Regions from separate parts of the Homo sapiens genome. Here regions 2, 3, 4 and 5 are each linked to region 1. Evidence: promoter capture Hi-C in human tissues and cell types (Jung and others, 2019). All regions are on one chromosome and are shown on one strand. Each heading gives the region's core, a stretch centred on a gene start or on the middle of the fragment in contact. The rest is flanking DNA. Distances are from core to core; before and after follow the strand shown.

Region 1 (3,111 bases), core at 302-2,801:
TTTAAAAAGCAAAACTTCACCTTCAAGAGCAGCTGAGATCCAGAATGTGAAGATCTTGGGGTGAGGTTCGTGAGATTTGAAAATAAACAGTCAAGTGCTGATCTGGATGATCACAGAGGAATAAAGAGGGAGGCACTAAATGTCCAGCCTGGGTTGCCCTGGGGTGAGGGGTAGGATGACGGCAGCGTTAGGCCAGAAGTGCCAACTTTTCACGGTCTTTGTTGCTGCAGAAGTCAAGAAAAATTTAGCCTCTTTCCAAGGGCTGTTGCTGCTTGGTTTCTGTTGCTATCACAAGGAGAAAAAGGTATTTCAGAGGGAGTTTTTCTTGTTCAAGCAAGAGACAGTTCAGAGATTACCGGCTTTTTCAAACCAGGCTGCTTTAGTGAAAGGGACTTGCTTCCTCTACTCTCAATGCCCTTTCCTCTGGAGAGATGGAAAGTGGATTTAAAAGGTGAAGAGTTGGAAAAGGAAGGTGGTGGGTTATGGAATTCACAGGATCACAAACACTTTTTAAAAAATTAGCCGGAAACGTGGCCTAATTCAAAGCTTTCATGTTACACACAGAATACTTAGACCTACAGAGGTCGACCAATTTGCTTAAGGTTAGGAGTACAGAAGGACTGGGATGTAAAGACATTGGACAGGTCCTAATTACATCTAATCTTCATGTGATGTGGTTATAATTAATTGAGTTGTTAATGAAGTAAGCAAGAAAGACCTATCTGATTTATCTAAATGAGGTAAAGAATGGGCCCTTTCAAAAGAAGTTGGGCCAAAAATAGACTATATGATGAGTGTCCAGAGAAGGTGTTAAAACTCAGCGGCTAATATAGAACGCTTTATGAGTTTCCACGAGAATAAGTCAAATGTAAATGAGCCTCAAGTCTGGATCACAAAGGTCTTTCCCTAGGTCCATGGGCGCTTCTCTAGGTGTGACAACTTCACGTCTAGTCAAAGCAGCTTCAGAGCTCAATGTTTAAATTGTGGGTTGGGCTCCCGGCTTTGTGGTCCTGGAGGAGGTTACTCCACTCCATCCCGTGTGCTCCCTTCTCAGGAGTAGGCCACTAAACAAAGACTACTAGGAAGAATCACTGAGGGGCGACTCCCGCAGGTTAGCGCTATCTCGGGCACCCCGCAGGGAGAGAGGACACGGCTGCCCCGCGAAAACACTCTCTGGCACCCGTGCTTCCAGGACAGGCCCTGAGGCCTCTCCCGGGGAAGCAGTTACACCTGTTCTCCGGGGCTCCCCTGAAGACCCCAAAAACACCCAACACCTGCCTCCCCAGGAAAGACGCTCTGGGCCCGATCTATGCCGCCCGGCCGCCGGGCCTGAGTGAAGCCTGTCCAGCCTAGGAGGGGCCCTCAGAACCTCCCGGTCCAAGCCTCTCACTTCGTCCACCCCTGCGGAGACGGGGCGAGCCCCGCACCCTTCCCGTGGCCCGGCCGCACCGCCCTGTGCCCGTGGTGGCGGCCACACAGGCCAGCCTGGCGAGTACTCACGGCGACCCCGGGCCGCGCGCGGCCGCAGCCGACGGGACGAGCGGCCCGGGACGCCCCGCGGGGGCGGAGCGGCAGGCCAAGGGGCGGGGGCCGGGCCTGGCGGGCGAGGTCGCGCACCCCACGCCTCGTCGTTCCGTCACGGGCGCGCTCAGCCACTCTGCGCACGCTCGCGCGGTGACACGATGGCACGTGGCCCGCTCCTGACCAACAGCCTGACGGCCTGCTCCTGGGCGCGCCTCAGCAGCCGACGCCAGCCTTGAGACGCCTGCGCGGCGGTCGCTAGTCGGGAAAGGGTGCGGAGTGGGGGGTGGCGCCTGCGCCGTGGGTAGGGGAGGCAGTGGAGAAGGAAGAGGGACTCTGGGGGAGTGCGGGGAGCCTTCCAAAGGAGAATACTTGCATTTAGCGCCCCGAGTGGTTGGGAGGAACAAGCAGGAAGGGCAACCCAGGTTGCCTGTAGGCCGGGAGGGAGTCCCCTCGCCGGAGGTTGGGGCCGGCAGGTAGAGACTGAGGGAAGTCCTGAGGCCTTGCTGACTGCAGGATTCTCTGGTTCGACAATGGAAGTCGAACACCTCGGGCTTTTAAAAATTCTGGCATTTAACTCATTTGTTCCCCGGTAGCTGCAGCGTGATGGAGAGCACCCTGGCCTTCTAGTCAATCTGGGTCTGAAGCTTGGGTTCGGCACTTATTGATGGTGCAGCCTTAAGCGATGACTTTCACTTTGTGAATCTGATTTCTCCTCTTTGAGGTGGAGACAGTAATATGTGTTTCACGGAGCCGTTGTGGTGAGGATGAACTGAGATAGTGTTAGGTTGAACCGTAGGAAATTGCTATTTTTGCAGTTTATAAACAGTCAGATACCTTCAATTTCATACGATTCCAACTAATCCATGTAAAGTAACCAGCAGAGTACTTGGGACTAGGAAGTAGTTCATACATGGAAGCTGTAATTGTGGTTATTGTGGTTATTAACCCTAGACATGGCCAGATCTCCTTCATCCTTATTAGTCTTGGGGCTTCCACGTGACCCTCTTTTCCATCAACACTAATGGGAAAAGGCTTATCTTAGACCTACTCTGTTTCCTCACTCCCTCTTTGTAGCTGGACACAGTACACACAAAGAAGGCTTTGGCCCTGAATGATATAAACACGTCATGTCTATCCCTCCTAAGCTGGCCTCAGAAGTTTCCCAGTTAACTTTTTGTTGTTGGTTGATTTACATTTGCACATTCTCAGCCTCTCCTTTCTAACTCCTTCCCCTTTTGATGTCCCCCTCTGCTCACCTTGCCACTCAGCCTGGGCCACAACACCGTCTCGGTGTGAGTTTGTTACATCTACTGCTTATAGTAACTGAAAAAAGTGAGGGATCAATATAACCTCGGTTTCAGAGTGCGGAAGTTCAGAGTGGTAGGGGAAGGAGTCAGGCCTGCTCTCTAAAACAACTCACCATCAAGGGCCCCGTAATAGCTTTTGAGAACCAAGTATGTATGGGAGTGTTTGAACATAAGCACTGTGCCCATGAGTGACAAGTCCAACTCCAGTATTCAATAACCTTTAGGATTCCCCCTTTCCAGCATACCACCACTAGCTCTTCTATTCATCATGAATCTCAGC
Region 2 (2,700 bases), core at 77-2,576, 240 kb after region 1:
AATATTCCTTAGAATACAGATGTTTTTATACTTTGTGACTTTTGAGTTTCTAATATTGTTTAAAAAGTATTAAAAAATTCTCTTTAAATTTTGGACCCATAAGCAGCTCATTTGAGGAGCTTGTAGATTTTATGCAAACATGAGCCCATGCTTCTGTAGGAAAATCTTAAAACTGAGGTTTAAGGTGGTGCCTCTAACCTGTTTAATTCTCGTTCAGATCAAATTCTGAAATAATAAAAAGGTGGGTTTTGGAGGTTTTCTGTGTATGTAAACTGGAATAAAAAAGTGGTTTTTTTTTGTTTTTTTTGTTTGTTTTTTTACTTAGCTTTATCCTAAAATAAGAAAGTTGTCTCTTGAGATTTTTGAAAAAGTAGTTGCCTCCCACTCTGCTAAATATAGGAATGTCATTCAGCAATTTGGTTGTGATTATTTTTATGTATGTATGTATGTATGTATGTATGTATGTATGTATGTATTTATTTATTTATTTTTTGAAACGCAGTCGTGCCCTGTCGCCCAGGCTGGAGTGCAGTGGCATGATCTCAGCTCACCGCAACCTCTGCCTCCTGGGTTCAAGTGTTTCTCTTGCCTCAGCCTCCCAAGTAGCTAGGACTATAGGCGCACACCACCGTGCCCGGCTAATATTTGTATATTTTTGGTAGAGACGGGGTTTCACCATGTTGGCCAGGCTGGTCTCGAACTCTGACCTCAAGTGATCCGCCTGCCTTGGCCTCCCAAAGTGCTGGGATTACAGGCGTGAGCCACCATGCCTGGCTTTGGTTGTGATTCTACCTGGAGAGTTTGTCATACTCTTGAATATGGGCCTGTCTGCACACATGTGTGCATCCAGATTATGATTCTCCACTGTGACTGCTTATTGGAATCTCTTGGGAGTTTTTGAAAATGGTAATGCCCAGGTGTCCCCCTCAGTCCTCTTCCTCACTCCCCCCATATTCTGATATATTTGGCCTGGGGTTTGTGGCTTGTTTAAAAGCTTCCTAGATGGCTGTGCACAGTGGCTCATTCCTATAATCCCTGTGTTTTGGGAGGCTGAAGCTGGAGGATTGCATGAGCCCAGGAATTTGAGACCAGCCTGGGCAACATAGCAAGATCCTGTCTTTAAATAAAAATAAATAAATAAATAACAGTCAATTAAGAGCTTATGTGCTACTAAAATTGAGAACTACTTGATCAAAGGATAGGGGATGATGGTGCAATTGATGTTAAAGCTTCAGCTAGGACAGTTGACATAATCAGACTTACTAATCAACTTTTTCAAAATGCAAAACTTTAAAGTAAATACAGCTGCTCTGAGCCTGGAATGTTATTTTCTTTAGATTACTAAAATACTATACTGCCACATTCATGGGAGTTCTACAGATGTACTTTTTCGGAGCCTGTGTAGTGGGAAATTGTTTAGAGCAGTAGTTCCCAGTTCTGTCTGCATGTTAGGATCATCTGGGGACCTTCAGATAAAAATGTTGGATGAAAATATATATATTCATATTCTACCCTTGACAGTTGAATCAGAATTGCTGGGGGCAAAGCCCAATTAATGGTATTTTTTAAGTTCCTCAGGAGATTCTTATATGTAGCCAGAATGGACAGGGGTGGGTGGTACTGATTTAGAGTTATAACTAGACAAGATGTAAGGTTTTAGGTTGTTCTATTGTCCTAAAAGTTAAATGTACTGCTGCTAGTATTAGTACTAGTTTTCTGATTATAGTGATTTTACTCAAACTGTTTTTGTTTGGTTTGTTTATATCCTTTAAAAAGGATGAAGAGCTCTTTATTTCAGCCAAGAGCTTGAATTGGCTTTTCACTGAACTATCAGTTTTGGTGGCACACCGAAGTGAATTTCTCTCCTTTGACAAGTCCTTGTAGGGAGTGGTGCTATAATCATAAATTAAAAAATAATTTCTCCATGTATTCAAATCCTACTAGCCTATTTTATCCTGGACCAAGACACTTAACCTCTGTAACCTCATCTGTAAAATGTAAATCATATCTAACTTGCATAAAATATTGATGTGAGTATTAAATGAAATAATGTATATAAAGTATCTAGCATTGTGCCCGGCACTAAATAATTTCAAATCTATGTTCTCCTTTTCAGCATTCCCTTTTACTCTCATTGTTCTTTCTTTCTTTTTTTTTTTTTTTTGAGACGGAGTCTCTCTCTATCACCCAGGCTGGAGTGTAGTGGTGCAGTCTCGGCTCACTGCAACCTCCACGTCCCGGGTTCAAGCAATTCTCCTGTCTCAGACTCCCGAGTAGCTGGGACTACAGGCATACGCCACCATGCCCGGCTAATTTTTGTATTTTTAGTAGAGATGAGGTTTCACCATATTGGTCAGGCTGGTCTCAAACTCCTGACTTTAGGTGATCTACCCGCCTTAGCTTCCCAAAGTGCTGGGATTACAGGTGTGAGCCACTGTGCCTGGCCCTTTTTTTTTTTTTTTGAGACTGAGTCTTGCTCTGTTGCCCAGGCTGGGTGCAGTGGCCTGATCTCAGCTCACTGCAACCTCCGCTTCCTGGGTTCAGGTGATTCTCATGCCTCAGCCACCCAAGTAGCTGGGACTACAGGCGTGCATCACCACTCCCAGCTAATGTTTATATTTTTAGTAGAGACAAGGTTTCATCATGTTGGTCAGCCTGGCCTTGAAGTCCTGACCTTAAGTGATCACCTGCCTCGGTCTC
Region 3 (3,093 bases), core at 44-2,543, 170 kb before region 1:
AGCCGCCCCATCTGGGAGGTGAGGGGCGCCTCTGCCTGGCCGCCCCTACTGGGAAGTGAGGAGCCCCTCTGCCAGGCCAGCCGCCCCGTCCGGGAGGGAGGTGGCGGGGTCAGCCCCCCGCCCGGCCAGCCGCCCCGTCCGGGAGGGAGGTGGGGGGGTCAGCCCCCCGCCCGGCCAGCCGCCCCGTCCGGGAGGTGAGGGGCGCCTCTGCCCGGCCGCCCCTACTGGGAAGTGAGGAGCCCCTCTGCCCGGCCAGCCGCCCCATCCAGGAGGGAGGTGGGGGGGTCAGGCCCCGCCCGGCCAGCCGCCCCGTCTGGGAGGGAGGTGGGGGGGGTCAGCCCCCCGCCCGGCCAGCCGCCCCGTCTGGGAGGTGAGGGGCGCCTCTGCCCGGCCGCCCCTACTGGGAAGTGAGGAGCCCCTCTGCCAGGCCAGCCGCCCCGTCCGGGAGGGAGGTGGCGGGGTCAGCCCCCCGCCCGGCCAGCCGCCCCGTCCGGGAGGGAGGTGGGGGGGTCAGCCCCCGACCGGCCAGCGGCCCCGCCCGGGAGGTGAGGGGCGCCTCTGCCCGGCCGCCCCTACTGGGAAGTGAGGAGCCCCTCTGCCCGGCCACCACCCCGTCTGGGAGGTGTGCCCAACAGCTCATTGAGAACGGGCCAGGATGACAATGGCGGCTTTGTGGAATAGAAAGGCGGGAAAGGTGGGGAAAAGATTGAGAAATCGGATGGTTGCCGTGTCTGTGTAGAAAGAAGTAGACATGGGAGACTTTTCATTTTGTTCTGTACTAAGAAAACTTCTGCCTTGGGATCCTGTTGATCTGTGACCTTACCCCCAACCCTGTGCTCTCTGAAACATGTGCTGTGTCCACTCAGGGTTAAACGGATTAAGGGCGGTGCAAGATGTGCTTTGTTAAACAGATGCTTGAAGGCAGCATGCTCGTTAAGAGTCATCACCACTCCCTAATCTCAAGTACCCAGGGACACAAATACTGCGGAAGGCCGCAGGGTCCTCTGCCTAGGAAAACCAGAGACCTTTGTTCACTTGTTTATCTGCTGACCTTCCCTCCACTATTGTCCTATGACCCTGCCAAATCCCCCTCTGTGAGAAACACCCAAGAATTATCAATAAAAAATAAATAAATTTAAAAAAAAAAAAAAAAAGAAATAACAGATTAGGTGGTTCCATGGTGTAATGGTGAGCACTCTGGACTCTGAATCCAGAAATAACAGATATATCAGAAAGCCAATCAATACAATCAACCACATCTCAAAAAAATCCAAGAAAATTCAGTAGTTATACACGTCTCTAATGGAGTCTTGGCAAAAGAAAAACAGAAGCTTCCTTGATTCGATAAAAGGTATCTACAAAGCCTACACCATGCTTAATGAGGAAAGGTTGAACATTTTTCCCTTGAGATGAGAAACAAGACAAAGATGGCCCTATAAAGTCCTATCAACATTATGCTGGAGATCTCAGGCAGCAAAGGAAAGCAGGAAAAAAATAAAAGGTATAAGGATTAGAAACAAGAGACAAAATTGTCATTATTTGCATATGACATAATTATATATATAGGAAATCCAGAAGAATCTACAGATAAATTCAAATTATATATGGTTTTTTTTGTTGTTGTTTCTTTGTTTTTTGAGATGGAATCTCACTCTGTCACCCAGGCTGGAGTGCAGTGGTGCGATCTCTGTTCACTGAACCTCCACTCCCGGGTTCAAGTGATTCTCCTCGGCTGAGGAAGGAGAATCACTTGAGCCTGGCAGGCGGAGGTTGCAGTGAGCCAAGATTGCGCCACTGCACTCCAGCCTGGGTGGCAGAGTAAGACTAAGTCTCAAGAAAAAAAAAAAGCAGCAGCAGAAGCAGAAGCAGCAGCAGAAGCAGCAGCAGCAGAAGGAGAAGCAGAGGCAGCAGCAGAAGCAGCAGCAAGCAGCAGCAGCAGAAGCAGAAGCAGCAGCAAGCAGCAGCAGCAGAAGCAGAAGCAGCAGCAAGCAGAGACAGAAGCAGCAGCAGAAGCAGAAGCAGCAGCAGCAGAAGCAGCAGCAAGCAGCAAGCAGCAGCAGAAGCAGCAGCAGCAGAAGCAGAAGCAGCAGCAGAAGAAGAAGCAGCAGCAGAAGCAGAAGCAGCGCAGAAGCAGAAGCAGTGGCAGCAGAAGCAGCAGAAGCAGTGGAAGCAGAAGCAGCAGAAGCAGTGGAAGCAGAAGCAGCAGAAGCAGTGGAAGCAGAAGCAGCAGAAGCAGTGGAAGCAGAAGAAGCAACAGAAGAAGCAGAAGAAGAAACAGAAGAAGCAGAAGTAACAGAAGAAGCAGCAGCAGAAGCAGAAGAATTTCACAAATACTGAACTAATTTTTTAGATTACATAATATACACATAGTATTATTATATGCACATGAAGTTCAAAAACAAGGAAAACTATATTGTTTAAGGATGTATAGCTAGGACTTAAAATTATGAAGCAAAGCAAAAAACAGTCACAAAGGTCAGGATAATAACTACCTCCACTGAGGGGGGATATGTTGACAAGGATGGTGAGGTTGGAGGGAAGCACTTCTGGCTTGTTGACCTGGGCAATGACAACACTAATATTCACTTTATTATTTCCCTTAAACTGAACATTTTATGCCTTCTCTTGTATACAGATGGTCCACAACTTATGACGGTTCAACTTACAGTTTTTCAACTTTAGCACAGTGCAAAATCGATATGCATTCAGTAGAAACCATACTTCAAATTTTGAATTTTTATCTTTTCCCAGGCTAGCAATATGCAGTATGATACTTTCTCATAATGCTGGGCAGCAGCAGAAAGCAGCAGCTCTCACAAGGGTAAACAACTGATCCTCAATAGTATATACTGTGTTGCCAGATGATTCTGTCCAACTGTAGGCTAATGTGTTCTGAGCGCATTTAAGGAAGGCTAAGCTAAGCTATTATATTTGGTAGGTTAGGTGTAATAAATGCATTTTCGACTTATGGTATTTTCAACTTACAATGGGTTTATCAGGATGTAACCCCACTGTAAGTAAGGAAGCATCAGTATATGAATGAAAAGGAAAAATAACAACTGCATGTAACTAGTATGGTAATTTAATATACGG
Region 4 (3,052 bases), core at 162-2,661, 190 kb after region 1:
CATGGCCCTAGTGCTAAGCTTAACAGACAGCTGTTTGACGAACCATCTGGCATTAGATTTTTTTCCTGCATGATTTCCTGTATTAGAATATAAGCTTCTTAAGGACAGAAAATGTAATCTGATTTGTATTTTCAATAATAGCTAACACAATAGTTACGTTCAACTGCATTCAGTATATGTATATTTAATTGAATTAATATGGAGTACATCTTCCCCTACTTGCACTCATCCTATTAGCTCTATAAAATCTAAATGTAATGACCAAAATTAGTCTAGTAAAGCACAACCTATCACAATCTCCCTCACAAAAATCCTAGTAAAATAATGACAAATTTTATTCAAAGAATGGAAAATCTTCAAAGTAGCATAAGAGAAGGAGTACAGACTAGAGACAGAGAGATGAATCAGGGCTTTGATTTCCACCTCTTATCATTTGCAAGCCGAGGAGCCTTGAGCCAAGTTATGTAAAGAGAAAGTGAAAGAGGATAAAAAAGAATAAAAAAGGGACCTTTCTAGGGGAAGGGTACAAGAAGGGACAATGGCATTTCTAGCAGGTTTTTGTTTTGTTTTGAGACAGGGTCTCGCTCTGTCTCCAGGCTGGAGTGCAGTGGTGCGATCTTGGCTCACTGCAACCTCTGCCTCCCGGGTTCAAGCGATTCTTGTGCCTCAGCCCTCCCCCCGAGTAGCTGTGATTACAGGCAAGTGCCACTAGGTTTGGCTAATTTTTTGTATTTTCAGTAGAGACAGGGTTTCGCCATGTTGGCCGGGCTGGTCTCAAACTCCTAGCCTCATGTGATTCGCCTGCCTCGGCTCCCAAAGTGCTGGGATTACAAGCATGAGCCGCCGTGCCTGGCCCTAACAGTCTTATATACACCCAAAATTTCAGGCATGCTGAATTTCTGGCAGTTCCCCAAATAATGCATGGCTCAAATATGCCGTATTTCACACTTACATATTTTATATATACATTCACATTCCTCTTCCCAGAACATCATTTATTTGTCCTCCAATACTCAGCTCAGGTCACACTTTTTTTTTTTTTGGATGGAGTCTTGCTCTGTTGCCCAGGCTAGAGTGCAGTGGCACGATCCTGGCTCACTGCAAACTCTGCCTCCCAGGTTCACGCCATTCTCCTGCCTCAGCCTCCCAAGTAGCTGGGACTACAGGCGCCCGCCACCACACCTGGCTAATTTAAAAAAATATATATTTTAGTAGAGACGGGGTTTCACCGTGTTAGCCAGGATGGTCTCGATATCCTGACCTCGTGATCCGCCCACCTTGGCCTCCCAAAGTGCTGGGATTACAGGCGTGAGCCACCATGCTTGGCCAGCTCAGGCCACATTTTCCCTAGGAAGGCCTCCATGACACGCTTGTGTGCCTTCTACACTGAGTTAGATACATATATTCTTGCTTCCCTAACATTCAGATCATACTTCTACTATAGTACTTATAATTAATGGTTTACATGTCTGCTTCTCTTACTAGCCTGAGAACTTCTTGAGAGCTGAAATGGTTTTATTTATTTATCTTTTCAGACAGAGTCTCGTTCTGTTGTCCAGGCTGGAGTGCAATGGCGGGATCTCGGCTCACTGCAACCTCCGCCTCCTGGGTTCAAGTGATTCTCCTGCCTCAGCATCCTGAGCAGCTGGTTTACAGGCGCATGCCAGCACACCTGGCTAATTTTTTTTTTTTTTTTTGCATTTTTAATAGAGACAGGATTTCACCGTCTGGCCAGGCTGGTCTCAAACTCCCAACCTCAGGCGATCCGCTCGCCTCGGCCTCCCAATGTGCTGGAATTACAGACAGGCGTGAGCCACCGCGCCTGGCCTATTTATCTTCTTAACCTCAACATCTAGCACAGTGCCTGACATGTTAGTGAACAACTGACTTGTTGAATTAACTAATAAAAATACAGGCATACAAGAAGAGCACAGTAGCATTTTCAGCAATTTGACAAATGAATATTGCTTTGTTTTCTTCAAAGGGCCACTACTTTAAAATTGAATAATCATCTTTGTATATAGTCAGACCTAAAACAAAGCTCTGTACACTTCCTGTGTCAAATAATAATAATGTAAGTCCTTTACACTAACTCATTTCATCATTGCAATCCAATGAGGAAAACCTTATTATTTTTCCTTTTTTTTTCCTCAGATGAGGAAACAGGCTTGTAAGAGGTAAACTAATTTGCCTAAGGTCACATATTTAATAAGTAGGGTTTCTAGCTCTGGCATGTATGGTGCTAACTACCACACTATTGTGCCTCTCAAAGTCAGCTGAGTAAGAATACTCACTGTTGCACAATATCTCATCCCTCTGTCTGACCCTCTCCACCTGCAATCTCCCATATACACTCACTTAGGAGAAACAAAGGCTCACGGCTCATACATGCAGCTTGTGATTTAGAAAAAAAATGTGCCCACATATGCTCGGCTTTGCTTAATGTAAACAAATATACTAATCAATATGGTATAAACCTCCAGGACTATTCTGTTTTAATAACATGTAGATACAATGTAATGATTTTAATTACTTTATTGTCCTGTCAAATTCTTTAAAATGGGAACTTGAGGCCGGGTGCGGTGGCTCACGCCTGTAATTCCAGCACTTTGGGAGGACAAGGTGGGCGGATCACCTGAGGTCGGGAGTTTGAGACCAGCCTGACCAACATGGAGAAACCCCATCTCTACTAAAAATACAAAATTAGCTAGACATAGTGGCGCATGCCTGTAATCCCAGCTACTCAGGAGGCTGAGGCAGGAGAATTGCTTCAACCCGGGAAGCAGAGGTTGTGGTGAGCTGAGATCGCGCCATTGCCCTCCAGCCTGGACAACAGCGAAACTGAAACTTCACCTCAAAATAACAAAAAAAAAAGGAACTTGGTATGCTGCTCCAGCAATTTAAATGTGTCAATCCACGTATCCAATGTTAAATTATCTTTTCCAGAAAGCAAAATGTGAAGCGGCTTATAAAGACTTCTTGTCAAGTATCACAAGCTCTCCATTATTACTTTACTAAAGATGTCTGTGATGCCACTTTGCAAAATAACTGT
Region 5 (2,930 bases), core at 36-2,535, 220 kb after region 1:
TAAGGACACATCTTAATTGCTTGTGTGACAAAATGGGAGGTATGCCTAAAGCACTTCTGCATACTGAAGTATGGTGGTCGTCCCAAAATGAAAACATTTGTGTGTGCTTTTGACTTGTGAGCTTGTTTCTGTTTCTGGACCTACCCTGGGCAGGTTTCCACAGTTGAGAATCTTAGCGTATTGCTGTTACCTCAAATTTCCACACACTACCAGTTTGTCTTTTGAAATGTTATTTTTATAAGATGTCAACCCTGGTATGGTTCACTTTTGTTATATGTTGGCACCTCTGTGGGTTACGGAAAGCTTTGCCCTCCAAAGCAACCAGTTGGTTTTTAGGAAAGGGAAATATTGATCTTTGTGGATAAGTAGAGTCTTGTTAAAAGCTATTAGAAGGCTCTCTTTGGAAAAAAATCAGAAAAATCAAAAGAACTGTGAAAAGGATGATAATAATGGAAAAGAGGCCTTTGTAGCCTTGTGAATGTAATACGTATAGTCACCACAGATTTTTCAGGGAGGCCAGTCACGGTGGTTCAAGCGTGTAATCCCAGCACTTTGGGAGGCTGAGGCAGGAGGATTGATAGAACCAAGGAGTTTGAGACCAGCCTGGGCAACATAGTGAGACCCCATCTCTAGCAAAAAAAATGTTTTTCAGGGAATGCTGAAATGTCTCCTTCTCAAAAAAAAAAAAAAAGTCTCCTTCTCTTACAAGTTAGTCACCTTACTCAGTTTATTACAGCAGGAGTTCCCAATCCTCAGGCTGTGGCCTGTTGTGAACTGGGCAGCACAGCAGGAGGCGAGCAGCCAGGGAGCGTTACCACCTGAGCTCTGCCTCGTGTCAGATTGGCAGCGGCATTAGATTCTCATAGGAGTGCAAACCCTATTGTAAATTGTGCATTCAAGGGATCTAGGTTGGCACTCCTTATGAGAATCTAATGCCTGATAATCTGAGGTGGAATATTCATTGTTATTGTCTGACTCCACTCCCCTCCCGCTCCTTTCATGGAAAAATTGTCTTCCATGAAACCAGTCCCTAGTGCCAAAAAGTTGGGGACCACTGTACTGTAGTTTCAAAAATGTTCATATTTGGCCTAAATCTATAGTCTGAGGAAGCATATCACATCTTTATCATTCATGACAAGCAGGGATGGGAGAGGAAGCAGGGATAGGAGTGGTTATGTGGGCAGCCAATAGCATAGGAAACTTAAAAGGAACCTACTTAGCCAAACATGTTTTGAGCCTTTGAGTCCCAGTGACTAAACAATGCAGATTAGGATAAAAGATTTGCTCACACCTGTAATCCCTGCACTTTGGGAGGCCGAGGTGGGCAGATCATGAGGTCAGGAGTTCGAGACCAGCCTGGCCAACATGGTGAAACCCCGTGTCTACTAAAAATATAAAAATTAGCCCGGTGTGGTGGTGTGCTCCTGTAATCCCAGCTACTCGGGAGGCTGAGGCAGGAGAATTGCTTGAACCTGGGAGGCAGAGGTTGCAGTGAGCCGAGATCGTGCCACTGCACTCCAGGCTGGATGACAGAGTAAGACTCTTGTCTCGAAAAAAATAAAAATAAAAAATAAAAGATTTATTAGCATGATAAATCAGGCTTTTCATAATGTGCCCCTATCTACCTTAGCTGCCATTTCTTTATGCTTATTCGTATTATAGCATAATAATCACATTCCCTGTGGAAATTTTCTGTATGCCTTTGTAAGGTTTTTTTCCTATGCTTCAAATGCTTCCCCCCACCCCCCCATAAACCCATTCATACTTCATGACCCACTGTAAATATTGTTTCTTCCTTGAATCTTTCCCTGTGAGCCTCAGAATTTTGTATATACTTTTATAATAAAAAGCTCTTATCTCATTATTTCCTTACTAGATAGACTCTGAAATTCTTGGTTGTTTGATCAGTGTATTAATTTTGGTATTCACGTTGTACCCACAAAGTTCCTGGAACATAGCTGTTAGACATTGAGTGAAAAGTCAGATATGAATGAATTTTCTAATTGATTTTATTATTGATAAAAATAAGTCTTGGTACTATCCCCATTTTTTTCCTTTGTGAATTGTTCACATTTCTCTTCTACCAAATTCACTGAATTAACCCTTCCCTCATTCTCTAACATACTACTTTTTGCTCTTAACCAGTTATCTTACGGAACTTTAGTTATCACAACTGTTATGTGAAATAGGTGACATTTTTACTGTTTTGTGGTTAAGGAATTAGAGGCATAGAGGAATTAAATAACCAGCTTTTCATAGCTGGAGTTGGAACTCAGTATTTTATATCATTAAATATACACAAACGTGTGAATGTTATTGTTGTGTGTGCTGGGTATTTTCTGTTTGCCTCTGCGGAACTCTTCTACCTTTTTCCATCCTGCTGTGCTCCAGAAGACTGACTTATACAGGCTGAGTCAATGGGCTCTGACTTGTGACTTCATTGCTGTGGCCTCTGAATCCAAATAAATGACTAAGAGTGGAATAGAGTCAGAAGTCTACTACATACCCCATTTAAGACTTTACAGCTTACATATGTACCATCCTCAAGAAAATATCAAGCCAAAATTGCTGTTATATTTACTGTTTTCTACTCTAAGCATTTAAAAACACAAAGTTTAATAAAAAATAATTCTCGACCAAAGTAATAGAATACATATATATTATATAAAATTTGTTCGTTATTTATGTATGAAGTTACAAACTTAGACTAGTGGTCCAAAAAGCCCAGCATTCTTCTGAAAGAAGCACCAAGAGATTCTGGAAGAATAGCACCGTGAAACTGTTATGGAGGCACTAGATAACAAATGCTTGCTTTAAAGGGAGAAGAGCCAGTTTATTTTGCTCGGTAATGAGAAAATAGTTCTTTAGTAAAGTTCTCAGGTGAGCTTATTACTAATGCCGTTTAACTTCAAATGTGAGAAAATATGTTT

The links. Contacts are between HindIII fragments. The study calls those that stand out against the background at their distance.
Region 2: a contact is called between a fragment that was not itself captured here and the fragment with the promoter of PARP6 in region 1, in 1 of the 25 tissues and cell types used here (mesenchymal stem cells).
Region 3: a contact is called between a fragment that was not itself captured here and the fragment with the promoter of PARP6 in region 1, in 1 of the 25 tissues and cell types used here (hippocampus).
Region 4: a contact is called between a fragment that was not itself captured here and the fragment with the promoter of PARP6 in region 1, in 2 of the 25 tissues and cell types used here (hippocampus and spleen).
Region 5: a contact is called between a fragment that was not itself captured here and the fragment with the promoter of PARP6 in region 1, in 1 of the 25 tissues and cell types used here (bladder).

The regions. Positions count from the first base shown.
Region 1 is chr15:72,271,003-72,274,113 of GRCh38, forward strand. PARP6 (poly(ADP-ribose) polymerase family member 6) reads right to left here and starts at 1,552. Exons shown (of 24, transcript NM_001323532.2): 1 at 1,391-1,552; 2 at 21-285. RefSeq lists a silencer at 1,295-1,714 and enhancers at 1,855-1,904, 1,965-2,054. The HindIII fragment of the contact is 3,446 bases long and covers 1-2,743 here.
Region 2 is chr15:72,506,548-72,509,247 of GRCh38, forward strand. The region is part of intron 1 of ARIH1 (ariadne RBR E3 ubiquitin protein ligase 1); the gene reads left to right. Among named protein-coding and RNA genes, the nearest start is that of ARIH1, 34 kb to the left of the region's middle. The HindIII fragment of the contact is 4,796 bases long and covers 1-2,700 here.
Region 3 is chr15:72,101,363-72,104,455 of GRCh38, forward strand. The region is part of intron 1 of MYO9A (myosin IXA); the gene reads right to left. Among named protein-coding and RNA genes, the nearest start is that of MYO9A, 15 kb to the right of the region's middle. RefSeq lists an enhancer at 706-1,216. The HindIII fragment of the contact is 8,126 bases long and covers 1-3,093 here.
Region 4 is chr15:72,461,595-72,464,646 of GRCh38, forward strand. The region is part of intron 1 of TMEM202-AS1 (TMEM202 antisense RNA 1); the gene reads right to left. Among named protein-coding and RNA genes, the nearest start is that of TMEM202-AS1, 11 kb to the right of the region's middle. RefSeq lists an enhancer at 412-681. The HindIII fragment of the contact is 4,046 bases long and covers 1-3,052 here.
Region 5 is chr15:72,489,567-72,492,496 of GRCh38, forward strand. All of the region lies in intron 1 of ARIH1 (ariadne RBR E3 ubiquitin protein ligase 1), which reads left to right. Among named protein-coding and RNA genes, the nearest start is that of ARIH1, 17 kb to the left of the region's middle. The HindIII fragment of the contact is 3,971 bases long and covers 1-2,930 here.